Regions from separate parts of the Homo sapiens genome. Here regions 2 and 3 are each linked to region 1. Evidence: promoter capture Hi-C in 16 types of primary human blood cells and fetal thymus (Javierre and others, 2016). All regions are on one chromosome and are shown on one strand. Each heading gives the region's core, a stretch centred on a gene start or on the middle of the fragment in contact. The rest is flanking DNA. Distances are from core to core; before and after follow the strand shown. Region 1 holds the start of DCAF5 (DDB1 and CUL4 associated factor 5). Region 2 holds the start of COX16 (cytochrome c oxidase assembly factor COX16). Region 3 overlaps ZFYVE26 (zinc finger FYVE-type containing 26).

The links. The method cuts DNA at HindIII sites, captures the fragments that hold promoters and counts their contacts. A CHiCAGO score of 5 or more calls a contact.
Region 2: a contact is called between the fragment with the promoter of COX16 here and the fragment with the promoter of DCAF5 in region 1, in 1 of 17 cell types (naive B cells). The highest score is 5.0, in naive B cells.
Region 3: a contact is called between a fragment that was not itself captured here and the fragment with the promoter of DCAF5 in region 1, in 1 of 17 cell types (neutrophils). The highest score is 6.6, in neutrophils.

Annotation. Positions count from the first base shown.
Region 1 is chr14:69,150,501-69,154,824 of GRCh38, reverse strand. It overlaps DCAF5 (DDB1 and CUL4 associated factor 5), which reads left to right and starts at 1,706. Exons shown (of 9, transcript NM_003861.3): 1 at 1,706-2,060. The coding sequence starts at 1,847. RefSeq lists silencers at 1,262-1,901, 2,722-2,771, 2,932-3,391. The HindIII fragment of the contact is 17,790 bases long and covers 1-4,324 here.
Region 2 is chr14:70,357,356-70,361,725 of GRCh38, reverse strand. It overlaps COX16 (cytochrome c oxidase assembly factor COX16), which reads left to right and starts at 2,043. Exons shown (of 4, transcript NM_016468.7): 1 at 2,043-2,207. The coding sequence starts at 2,139. All of the region lies in intron 3 of SYNJ2BP-COX16 (SYNJ2BP-COX16 readthrough), which reads left to right. It also overlaps the pseudogene RNU2-51P. RefSeq lists enhancers at 1,464-1,553, 2,014-2,323. The HindIII fragment of the contact is 4,146 bases long and covers 1-2,578 here.
Region 3 is chr14:67,808,283-67,813,022 of GRCh38, reverse strand. It overlaps ZFYVE26 (zinc finger FYVE-type containing 26), which reads left to right. Exons shown (of 42, transcript NM_015346.4): 4 at 3,734-3,823. Among named protein-coding and RNA genes, the nearest start is that of ZFYVE26, 5.9 kb to the left of the region's middle. The HindIII fragment of the contact is 1,554 bases long and covers 2,212-3,765 here.

The DNA.
Region 1 (4,324 bases), core at 457-2,956:
ATTGCAATGACAGAAGGATGTTTGGTGCTATACATCTTTAATAAAGCTGGTATACTGCTACTAATTTTTAGGTGGTGATTATAATGAATAAACACAAAGGATTATTAGAAGGCATCCTGAGGATAAAACCTTTTAAGTACCACATAGTTTCCTATTTAGGGGAACAATATTCCATTAAAATTCACATTTTTGGAATTTGATTTCTTTCTTTTAAAAATTTATTTATTTTTTGCCCTTTTCCCCAAGTTCTGATGGAATTTGGTTTCTGTTTAGTAATGTTTGCTAGAATATGTACTTTTATATGAAACATTTGCATATTTGTTATTAGTACGATTAATCGTATTGTCACTGAACAAAAAGTAGAAGTAAATAATTTTGTTTGACGGGTAAACCTCTTCCATGTTCAGCCGATCTTTTTTTTTAAAAAAAATTATTATTATTTTCCCCAGATCAGAGATGTACAGCCCATCTTTCAATGATGATTCTACTCAACTGCTCCTGTGCCATCTCTGGTCCAGAGGATGTAATTCCTGCTAACTTGAAAGGGCAAAACTGACAAGTGCCTATTTCAGTAGCTTATTACCACTTAATGACAGAGGATAGCTTCCAGGAAAAGTACTATAATACATCGAAAAGGGGACTTTTAACTGTATCTGGTAGAATTCCAAAGCATTTAACACCCACTAGGGTCAACGCGGTGACTCCCATCCTACTGAAGTGCAGCCACTTCTGGCCTGGAGCGCAGCTGCTGGTTAACAGCTGTCCAACCTCAGTGCTCCCCACTCGAGACCTTTAAGAGGAGCTCACCGAACCCAATTAAATAACATATATCGTTAGTTTCAAATCACGCTTCTTGTGTCGTGCAAATTTATCTGGAACGGAGAGAAGTACCTCGTGCTTCTCGGGACTTCATCAACTCGGTTTTGGCAATTTTCTTCCTACTTCTTTATCCCTTTCTCTTTCCCCCCATGTACCACTCTAATCTGCCAGACGGAACAATTTAGCCTTTTTCAACTAAAGGACCGGAGGAAGGAAGAGTTAGAGAACTGGACTTGGGGATGAGCGGTGGTGTTAAACATTTACCGGGAGAGGGGAAGGGGCGGGTGCGCGAACAAAACCCCCAGGCAACGTTCCTCCAAGTGTGCGGCCCTACCTCCCGGTTCCCCCGCCTCGGGCAGGGCCGGACTGCCCAAGGCAGAGGCCAGCAGAGGAAGGAGGGCCGGAGCCCCCGCCCGCACCTTCCCCCACTCCAGCCGCATTTTCCCCGAACTCGTACGGGCGCTGGCCTCCGGGCAGCAGCCGGCCCGCGGGTCCCCGCGGGAGGAAGGCGAGCCAAAGCCCGGCGGCCACTCGGATTGTTACGCGCATTCAACTCCGCGGAGTGCGGGGCGCTGGGGTGCAGAGGGGTCTCCGCCCGGCGCCACCCAGGTCCCCAGGCGGGAAGCGGCTCAACTGGGAAAGCAGCCGGCGCCCGTGGTCTCCGGGCCGGCCGCCCGCGTTCTTCCGGCCAGCCCCCCGCGGAGGGGAGGGGCGCCGACGCCGCGTTCTCGGGGCCCCGCAGCCGGCGGAAGGGCCGCGCATCGCGGAAGCGCGGCGGCAGCTGAGGATCAGCTGCTGGAGGAGGCGGAGAGGCAGAGGGAGGAGCCTCGGGGGGAAGGAGAGGGAGGGGACCGTCAGGAAGCCGCGAACGCCGCCGAGTGTCTGCACACCTCGCTCTGCCTGCCATGGCTGGTTAAAGAACCATCCGGATCGCAGCGCGGGGGGAGGGCCGGGTGGGGGGAGCAGCGGCCGCGCGTGAGGCCGAGGGAGGGGCGGCGGCGCGAGCGGCGGCGGCGGCGGTTCCAGCATGAAGAGGAGAGCTGGCCTGGGGGGCAGCATGAGGTCAGTGGTGGGCTTCTTGTCCCAGCGGGGCTTGCATGGGGACCCCCTGCTCACTCAGGACTTTCAGAGGAGACGCCTGCGGGGCTGCAGAAACCTCTACAAGAAGGACCTCCTCGGCCACTTCGGCTGTGTCAATGCCATTGAATTCTCCAACAATGGAGGCCAGTGGCTGGTCTCAGGTAAATCAACCCCCTTCCCCTCCCCGCGCCTCCCCGCACCCTCCCAGCCTCCCCCTCTCGCTCTCCCCCGTCACCCTCCTCCTGCCCTCTGTCCCCACCCCCTCCCTTTCTCTACCCCCTTCTGCGGTGGGAAGGTTTGGTGTCAAATTAAAACCATTGCAGGGGGAGGGGAAGGAGAGGATGTCTTCTATAAAAAAGACCTAAAATGGTTGACAGCTCCTTAATTCGCTTTATCCCAAGTGCAAAGTGATCTCTCCTGATGCCTGCCCTGAAAGTGTAGGTCGGGGAGGGGGGCGAGGTTACCGCTCTACAAAGTTTGACGGCAAACTCTTCCTCCGCGTACTTTAAAAGGTGCTGGGGGCATTTTGGGGATGTGGAGGGTGAGGAGGCCGAGGAGCGCCGGAGGCAAGGGGGAGCTGAAGCCCCCGTCGCCGGCGTTAAGGAAAAGGGGTCTTGGGGCTGGGAAGCGGGCGGTGACAGACCCGGACGCCGAGGGGCCGGGGGCTGCGACCCGGGGGCTGGCGGGGTCTGCAGAGGGGAAGTGACTGGGGCGGTAGGGTCGCTGTGGGCCGCCCCCCTCGGCGCTCTTAGAGGCCCAGCACCATCGCCTTTCGTTCGGTTGTGGCCTCTTCTGCGTCTTGTTTTTAATACAGTTTCGAGAGTGGCGAGGGCTGTGGAGGCTAAAGGGCACCAGCCTGAACTTGAATGCGCAACTTGCGAGGCAGGCGGTAGGGTGGGGGACCCCCGGGAGACTTGTTGGCGGGAGCCCGGCGCCCCGCACCCCGTTTCCCGCGGCCGCTGTTGCAAGTGGTCTCTGCTTCTCCTCCCTCTCGCCCAGACGGGCCTGGTTGCCCCCGGGCTCTCCCTCTGGTTTGGGGAAAGTGGCGAAATCGAGGCCGGGGCTCCGGCCGGGCGGTGTAGGCCTCGCTCTCCCGGGGCTCCTAGCGACAGGCAGCTGAATCGATAGCCTATTGCTCCCGGGGAGGCCCGGGCCCCGCGGGCCGCGGCGACAGCTGCCCCTGGGGAGGTGCGCCTGCTGCCGGTGGGGGCGCTCGCCGCCGTCGTCCCCTCCTCCCTGGGGTCGCGGGCCCAGGGCAGGGGCGGGTGGGAATGGGCCTACGTGAGGGCTAGGGGGCGGCTCCCCGAAACCTGGCTCAGGGGAGGGGGGGTGAAGACGGCTGATTGGGCGTTCCTGCTTGGCTGCTGCCCTCTTCTGTCCCTTTTCCTATATTGGGAGGGATGAAGGGGGAACCCAGCGCTGGACGTGGCGCTTAGCTTCACCCAGGTCGGTCCCTGAATGTCTTTCTAATTTGTGTCCGTGAGCAGCTCGCCAGAAACTTCTGGGATCTTGGCAAAGCATCCGTCTTCGCGAGTAACCTTCGGAAGTGACATGGGGCGTACAGTCCAATTTGGGGGTAGCAAAGAGAAAGGTCTTCTGTGATCATTTTATGATAAACCTTCTGGGGTCTGTCCAGAACTGACTTGACTTTTGTACCCCAGATCGTTTTCTCTTTGACTAGGTAGATTTTGGCCCTAGATCATCCTCTGAAGAAACCTGATCTTTCAGACAAAAGCCTCCTTCCCCCACAGCACCGTATAAAATTTTATCAAATAAATTTGAAGAGCAAAAATGGGGGAAGACCTCTTCTTTATAGACCTAGCTCCCAGTTTCCCTGCTGTTGTTTTTTATGTATTCATAAAACTCCCGATGTATTACAACAGAGAAGTTCCCAGACACAAGTAAACTTTACCTACCGAGTGAGGGAGTTTGGGGGTACTCTTTTAGAGACAACTGAACTAATCATGTTAACGGAATTGTAAGTAGTCACACGTTGCCCAGCTTGACACACCTTTATTTACGTATTTATTTGAGACAGGGTATCACTCTGTTGCCCAGGCTGGAGTGCAGTGGGCTATCACTCACTGCTCACTGCAGCCTTGATCTCCCAGGCTCAAGCTAACCTCCCACCTCAGCCTCCCAAGTAGCTGGGACTACAGGCAGGTGCTATCATGCCCAGGTAATTTAAACTTTTTTTTTTTTTGTAGAGGTGGAGTCTCCCTATGTTGCCCAGGCTAGTCTTGAACTCTTGGCCTTAAGTAATCCTCCTGCCTCACCCCGTAAAGTGCTGAGATTGCAAGCATAAGCCACCATGCCTAGCTCACACTTTAAAAAAAATAACAAATTTATTGAGATAATTTCCATGCCACATAATTTATCTATTTGAAGTTACATTTTTAAAAGCACGAAATGTTCTTTACCAGTT
Region 2 (4,370 bases), core at 794-3,293, 1.2 Mb before region 1:
TGAGTGATTGAACAAACAAGATACTAAAGACATAGAGTGCCTTAAATTGGATAGATGCCTTATCTGAAAAGTGTAAGATTATCGACTCTAGCATTATTTTGAATATATGTATACGATTTAACCCATTATTAGCTACTACTTAGGTGCCGGGTTTTGATGGAGTAGTATCCAGTAGGCTGATGTTTTATGTAGTGAAGATGTAGGAAAACGCTAGAGTTTTAGAGCAGCGCCTTTGGCTTCTAGGATCTTAGGGAAAGTAGGAGATGTGATACGCTTAACTAACCTGGATGCCACGTGAGATTTATTTATTTATTTTTGAAACAGGGTCTAGCTGTGTCACCCAGGCTGCAGTGCAGTGGCATGATCACGGCTCACTGTAGCCTGGACCTCCTGGGCTCAAGTGATCTTCCCACCTCAGCTTCCCAAGTAGCTGAGACCCCACCATGCCTGGCTAATTTATTATTATTATTATTATTTGTAAAGATGGGGTCTTGCTTTGTTGCTCAGGCTGGTCTCGAACTCCTGGGCTCAAATGATCCTCCTGCCTCAGCCTCCCAAACTGCAGGTATTACAGGCATGAGCCACCATGCCTGGTCTGCATGAATTTTGAAATATCAAAAGGAAGTAAATAAGATGGGAGAGATGCACCGTTCCTGGGTTTCTGGAGGTATTGAAATACAGGTTGATGTGTAGAGTGGTGGAGCAAACTCCTATTCCATCTCCTTGCTTCAAAAACCCATTTAACATATTTTCCTTGGATAGAGAATGTGTCAAATATTAAACTGTTAAGAACAGATACTACACTTGATCTTAGCCAAAAGGATAAGTTTCACTGGAGTAGCCTGCAGTAGATCTGGAGCTTCTCTTCTGGAGACCACTTAAGAGGCTACTTTAATAGGTGAAAAGATGATAAGGAATTAAAAAAAGGAACATTTCAGTGGTAACAGAGAGGCAGGGACAGATGGAAATATTTCAGGAATAGCATGGAAGATAATATTCCGCATCACCTGCACTCTGATTCACTCTGGTAAATGGGACACGTGGGGGATCGGCTTCCTAAGCTATCCCAGTACTTCACACATGTTTGTTTCTGTGCCCATGAAATCGCCAGTGTCTTTAAGGTAAGGATCATATATTTTTATCTGTGTTCCTAGAACCCTTTCAAAGACACGCTGAAAGGTGGCCTGTATGGTTGCTGAATCATTGGTAAATAGACATTCATAAATGACTAAAGATTACAGGTTATCTCACAGTAAAATCATTAGCATTAAAAGTTCAGTAATGACTGATGAGACACTACACTGATTACATTTCAACCTAATCTTTCAAAAGCGATTTATTTTTAAAAGTCTCCATTAAACTGGCAAATTCCTCATCCCACAAATAGCCATAAAGACTGGAGTACCAGCTTCAAAATACTTTTTTTTCTTTTTTCTTTTTGAGACGAAGTCTCGCTCTTGTTCCCCAGGCTGGAGTGCGATGGCGCGATCTCTGCTCATTGCAACCTCCGCCTCCCGGGTTCAAGCGATTCTCCTGCCTCGGCCCCCCAGTAGCTGGGATTACAGGCGCCTGCCACCACGCCCGGCTAATTTTTGTATTTTTTTTTTTTAATAGAGACGGGGTTTTACCATGTTGACCAGGCTGATCTAGAACTCCTGACCTCAGGTGATCTACCGGCCTCGGCCTCCCAAAGTGCTGGGATTACAGGCCACCCACCCAGGCCACCGCGCCCGGCCTCAAAATACTTTTTTCCTTAGCTGATTTTATCGAGTGGCTATGTGCCTAAGGGAGTGTTCTAAGCAGACGTTAGTTAGGACCCAGAACGTGGGAAGTACTGGTTTCCAGATCAATTTGGTGGTGATCGTAAACCGATTCAAATCTCTAAATCCCAATTGCACGCCGACGTTACGGAACCAAAAACGCTGACGCCCACATTTCTGGGCGGACGCACAAGTATGTTACGATGGCTCGATTGCTTTTGCCTAGCGGAAACCATTCACTAAGGACCGAGCACCAAATAACCAAGGAAAAGGAAGTGAGTTAAGGACGTACTCGTCTTGGTGAGAGCGTGAGCTGCTGAGATTTGGGAGTCTGCGCTAGGCCCGCTTGGAGTTCTGAGCCGATGGAAGAGTTCACTCATGTTTGCACCCGCGGTGATGCGTGCTTTTCGCAAGAACAAGACTCTCGGCTATGGAGTCCCCATGTTGGTGAGTGGAGTGAGGAGGATCTTCCGCAAGGGGTGGGACCCTCCTCCTTGGCAGGATCAAGACCTGGGAGGGAATCTGTAAAATGTGAAGTTAAGGGCTGGCACTCGGGCTAGGAAGGAGCTAGCGACGGGGTGAGAGCTTTCCTAAAAGCTCTTCCACCAGTCTTTTCCACACCCCCACTTCCCCGCCGCTGTCCCCCACTCCCGGTTGGATTTCAGGTGTACTAGGATCTGTCTGCTTGTGAGCGTGGCGTCTTTCCCATCGTCGAACGCGGTCATTGTTACTACCCTTGATTCACAGTTAAGTAAATTGAAGCTCAGAGAATTCAGTCAGAACCACACTTTAAGCCAAGTTTGGATGATTACTAAGCTTGCTTCCTCGCCCCCAACTTAGCTATGTTTTGACGATACTGTGGATCATTGGGACTAGATGTATTCCATTTAACTGCACGAATTCCTGGTATCTTTCTGTTTCATCTTTCTAGTTTGTGAATTAGCTTAATACTTAGAGTTGTGATGAACTAATAACACCTTGTGAATAAAGTGTTGAGTACGGTGCCTGCCACATTGTAGCCAGAATGATTGCTGTGTTATAATTTCTAAAGCACGTTGAAAACAGCTTCCGTGTTTATATGGTTTCATCCATATCCACACTGAGTTCCCTAAGGATGTCATGAAATGCAGGCTGAGGCTGGCTTAAGACAACCAGAGTTGAAATCCAGATGACTCTTATTTGCTTTTTGATTACGGGCCAGTTATTTTGCTTCAGCAAGCCTTGATGTGTTAGTAAATGAAATAATTAAAGCATATGAACAAAAGCTGCTTTTAAATACAGACTATATTTTTATTTTGTATGAATGTTGGCGCAGATGAAATTACCAGCTTTTCCATTTAAGCAGACTAAAGGAAAGAAGTGATCTTAGAAAGGTAATGGATATTTTACACAGTTTTGAAAAATCCACATTCATCAAATGTGGATTTTAGGAATCTCCAAAAGATTCACCCATTTGAAGTATCTGGGCCAAGCACGATGGCTCACACCTGTAATCCCAGTGTTAGGGGAAGCCAAGACAGGAGGATCGCTTTAGGTCAGGAGTTCCAAACCAGCAAGACCTCTGTCTCTCCAAAAAAAAAAAAAAAAAAAAAAATTGTTGTTTTTAGCAAATTCGATATTAGTATACTAATATATTCGTATATTAGTATATTCTTAGTTATGGAGCCATCACCACAATTTTAGAACATTTTCATTGCCCCCAAAAAAGCATCATAACTAATAGTAGTCACTTCCCATTTCTTCCTGCCTCTTAATGCTGGCCTGGTAAACCACTAATCTACTTCTACCCGTAAATTTGCTTATTCTGCACATTTCATATTAACACACTAATACAACGTGGGTTTTTTGTGACTGGATTCTTCCACTTAGAATGTTTTTAAGGTTCATTCACATTGTAACATATATCAATACTTCATTCCTTTTGATGGATATAATTCCATTGTTTGGATATATTTTATCAATTGATGAACATTTGGGTTGTTTCAATTTTTGACTATTATGAATAATGCTGCTATGAACATTTATGTACACGCTTTGTGTGGAAGTATGTTTTCATTTCTCTCAGGTAGGGAATATACCTAGACGTGGAATTGCTAGGTCATATGGTAACTCTTCAACTTTTTAGGATGTGCCAGATGTTTTCCAAAGTGGCTGCATCATTTTACATTCCCACCAGCAAGATATGATTTTCAATTTCTCCACATCCTTGCCAACACTTGTTATTGTCCATCTTTTGAATTATTACCCTTTCTAGTAGGTGTGAAGTGATACCTCATTGTGGTTTTGATTTTCATTTCCCTAACGACTTATTATGTTGAGCATCTTTTCAAATGTTTATTGGTCATTTGAATATCTTTTTGGAGAAATGTCTGTTCAAATCCTTTGCCCATTTTTTAATTGGACTATGTTTCCTTTTATTGGACAGAGGTTTCTTTAAAACCCAAAACCAACAAATCTGCCAGTCTTTGTCGAGAGGCTCTGCATGCTTTTTTGGGCATGCTTTCAACATTCAGCCATGCAATTTACAGCTCCATGTATAGCCTTCACTTCTTACTTGCTCAGAGCTTCAAATTAGTCATAAGTTGAGAATTTAGGGCCTTCTCAGGTCTT
Region 3 (4,740 bases), core at 1,739-4,238, 1.3 Mb after region 1:
TTATCCAGGATTTAGCCAGTTGTTTAGGAAAGAAAAATGACAGAAAGACTAGTAGGAGCGAGAAGAAAGAAAAACAAGATTGAAACATAATGAAACCCAGCATCATTAAGAGTTGGCTATGGTTTCAGATTTAAAAGAGAAAACTTGAACTAAAATAGTAACCTATAGTTACTATAGTATCTTCAAAGAGAAAAAGAACTATTGTTACTGATTAAGGGATCTCTCTAGTACAAACATGGAATTTGTCAAATCAAATTAACTTTCCCCTCAGTAGAGACTATTTGCTTACTTTATATCTGAATGGTTGCTTATTTTCTAGACAGTTGCTCAACTATGTCAGGAGATGGATTCCACTTCCCGTTCTTGTTTTTCCCAGGTTCACAAATAGATTATTTGGTCTTTAAAGCTTCAATGACTTGCTTATTTAAACAGTTGTGGGACTATTTTAGTTCCTCATAGAATTTTAAAACTATATAAGCACCATGGCGTCCAGTGAATTCTTGGGGTAGTTTTCCAAGTCCAGTCATTATCCTGAAGGTGCCTTCATCATCTAGGAATTTACTGGCTGCCTGTCCTTTTCCAGGTTCCCACCTTTTGCCAAAAGCTTCCCTTTTAATTATTAGATGAAATAGTGATTCTATTTTCCCTTTCCTCCATTCATTTTTGCCTTCTGCCTTTTAATCTTGCAGAGATGTATCTCTCCATGTGTAAGCAATTATACAAAGATTTAGCTGCAGAAATGTTCACGTCTATGCTACTTCTATTAGAAGAAAACTGAAACAACTCCCATGTCCATAGTATAGGACAGGTTAATAAATGGAAATATATCTATATGTAAAATACTATACCACTATTCAAAAGTATTTGGCAAATGAGTTTTCACTAACATAGAGTGTTCATGGTCTGCTGTATGGGAAAAAAGGCAGTTTAGAAAAAAGTACATTTGGTATACATGCATAGAGATGTGCATAGCAAATGGTCTGAATGAATGGCCTTAGACCACAGTTTTCATAATTGTTCTCCTTCAGTGAGAATATATATAAAATATATATTTCATATATAATATGTTATATGTAATATATTTCATATGTGATATATATTTCATATATAATACATGTTATATATCATATATTTTATATTTGTTATATATCATAAATTTCATATATGTTATATATTATATATTTCATATGTAACTAAATACACCAATTAAATTTGTAAAATTACAAAATTAAATATACAAATAAGCAAACTAACATATGTTATATATATTATATTGCACTAAAATATAACATATATGTTACATATCTCTCTCTAGGATAAAACACTTTATCTTAGAGAAATAGCAGAAATAAGACTAACTGGACATACATATGTTTTATATATATATAACATATTTTAGTTTACTTATTTGTATATTCAATTTTTCTACATTGAACATGCCTTGCTCTTGTAACCGTAAAGTTATTTGACAGAACTGCTGCTGAAACCAAAATCTTCTGACCTCAATCCTCTGCTTTTTCTGCCTTAACACTACTTTTTTAGCCCAGATGGACTTAAAACTAAGAAACCACAAATTCTACTTTTAAGATGTCTATAATTTTGCCAGTTTTTTAAATTTTTGCTCCTCTCGGTCACCAGAATTAATTTTGTCTTTGGTTCCACTTTTGCATGACATCCTTGCTTAGAAATGCTGAGCAAATTCTTGCCTATTTTAGGAAGATAAATGTTAGTCAATTATGATCCTGAATATGTTTAAAGTAGTTTCAGCAGTAAAATAAGTATAATCTACTCAGTCTTTAGGATTCTAAATAAAATCTTAGCCAGGCTATTAAGGATCTGCTGTCCTAGACATCTTATCTATTCTTTTCTGTTAGTCTTCAATAGAAGCACTAATCCTCAGCTTCCCAGCATGAATTTTATCCACCAGCTTCCAATCACAGGCATTATACAAGCATTCACATGGCCTTGATGCACATATTAGGGAAGTACATGGTTAGAAGAAATAAGATTTTGGACCAAGAACACATTAGATCATGTTAGCCTCTGATGTGGTGAATGGTACATGAATGGAGATAGTTAGGTCTTGTGCTCTAAACTCTCCTCACTCATGTACACACACACACCTGCAGCTGTACACACACACACACTCTCACACACACACATCCCTGCAGGTGTTCCTTGCCTTCCAATAAAACTTATCTTTGGGAAGCTTTAACCAGAGGCAAGATTGACAGATGTCTCATATTTAAGGTAGTGTTTGTCAGGATAAGTCTCAGACTCTTGCTATTTTTATTTGTGTCTGGAAAAGGGGAGACTCCAATTTGTGTGTTAGGGACCAGGTGAAGGTAAGTTATTGTGAAACAAGCAGGCGCAGGAAGAGTCAGAGCCTTTGTCTCTATATATTAGACCTCTCTGATGGCACATCTCATTAACAAACACTGGGATCACCTTTTCCTTTTTGTTTGAAAAAATTGGGAAAAATGCTTCCTAACCATTTTACCTCTAGTAAAGATTATTTGTAAAAAATATATAAATATGTGCCACAGTTTTGTTTGATTTGGAAATTAAGTGTATTAAGAATAAAATATGGCACACAGTACCTGTGAGGTACTGGCATATAATAAGTGTTTAATAAACATTGGATTTCTCCCCTTATACTGTTCTTCTTTCACTGCTATGCAAAGGATAGTGAATGACAAAAACAGAGGTTTGGACCAAAAGAGGATCATGTGGGCCATACCCTCCCAGGCTTACCCACAACTGGGTGTTTTGAACACAACAAGAGAGATTCTTGGGGAAAGACCTCAAGTGACAAAAAAGGTTAATGAAATGAACAAACCTTGGAACTTACGGCTGATCAGTGTGGGCTTTAAGTATTAGTTTTTAAGAGAAGTGTATGTCCAAGTTTAGCTATTTTTGTTTATAAAGAATAGTATCTGTGCCAGGCACGGTGGCTCACGCCTGTAATCCCAGCACTTTGGAAGGCCGAGGCAGGCGGATCACGAGGTCAGGAGATCAAGACCATCCTGGCTAACACGGTGAAACCCCATCTCTACTACAAATACACAAAATTAGCCAGAAGTGGTGGCACACGCCTATAGTCCCAGCTTCTCGGGAGCCTGAGGCAGGAGAATCGCTTGAACCCAGGAGGCGGAGGTTGCAATGAGCTGAGATTGCGCCACTACACTCCAGCCTGGGCAACAGAGCGAGACTCTATCTCAAAAAAAAAAAAAAAAAAAAGAGAAAAGAATAGTACTGAAAACATATCCAGGAATGTTGTGTTTAAAAGTACTTTATCTTAGGCCAGGCGTGGTAGCTCACATCTGTAATCCCAGCACTTTGGGAGGCCGAGGTGAGTGGAACACTTGAGGTCAGGAGTTCCAGACCAGCTTGGCCAAATGGTGACACCCTGTCTCTAATAAAAATATAAAAATTAGCTGGACGTGGTGGTGCGCACCTGTAATCCCAGCTACTCGGGAGGCTGAGGCCTGAGAATCGCTTGAAGCTGGGAGGTGGAGGTTGCGGTAAGCTAAAATCATGCCACGGTACTCCAGCCTGGGGAACAGAGCAAGACTCTGTCTCAAAATAAAAAAAAAAAAAAAAAAAAAAAAAAAGAGTGCTTCATCTTAGAGAAATAGCAGAAATAAGACTAACTGGACAGAAATATTTAATTATAATTTGTTAACTAAAACATATATCTCATCTCTATGCTTCATTCTTTTGATTCTTCTAGAAGTTACTCCCAGTTGTTTTCCGGAGAAAGCTTGAGTTTCTTTTATTGTCAGAAGACCTCCAAGGTGACATTCCAGAGAACATCCTCGAGGTGAGAGAGAGCCCTGGTACCATCTGCCCAGGGTTGACAGTCACTTAAGCAGCTTAGCTTCCATGGACCCAGAAGAGAGAGGTCTCCAAGATGTTGCCCATACTTTGTTCTCAGGCAAGGCAACACAGAAGCTCCTTTGAGGAGAGTTTAGAGTTAGGGTAAACTTATATGATTTTAGAATTTTTGATGTGGTTGTCCAGAAGTACCAAGTATAACTGGGAATTAAAGATTTATTAGTAGATAGCAGGGAATATGAAGGGGACAAGGAACTAGTATTCGTTGACTATCTTTTCTATAACAGGGTCACTGAATGTGTTAGAGTTAATTCTCATAACAACCTTCTGGGGGTAGATTCAAATTAAGTCTTAATTATATCGTTATAGCATGTATCAGTTACTACTTTAGTGCCTGAGATATGCTCTGAGGCCCAATACTTATTTTTTTAATGACCCTGACACCAGTTAATTAAAGACATATTTACAGTAGGATTTAAGAGAGGGACTTTCACTTGTATTAGGTAAAGGACTCATGGTCTTGCAGTCCATCTCTGAGGCAGTTAATGAAGTGGCATCATCGAGTACCATCTATAGGCATGATGCTTAAGTATGGGAAATAACCTACTTCTCACCCCCTTCTCTCCCTGTACCCTCACCCTGCAAACAGAGGATAGGCTCTAGAGGTTCTTGCTTTTAGGTGACTGAGGAAGAAGGACTAAAACACACACTATTATGTATTAAATCATATGGTACTAATTTTAAGTACATTGAAGTTGTATGGGTTGGAGGTATTGGAGAAGGTTTTTGTAGTAGGATAAAGAATGGACTGAAAGCATGGCTGGGATTTAGATCAAGGGTTAAAAACTGACATTCTTTTAAAAATTGAATGTAAATGCCTTTAGATGGGCATAATGTCTTACC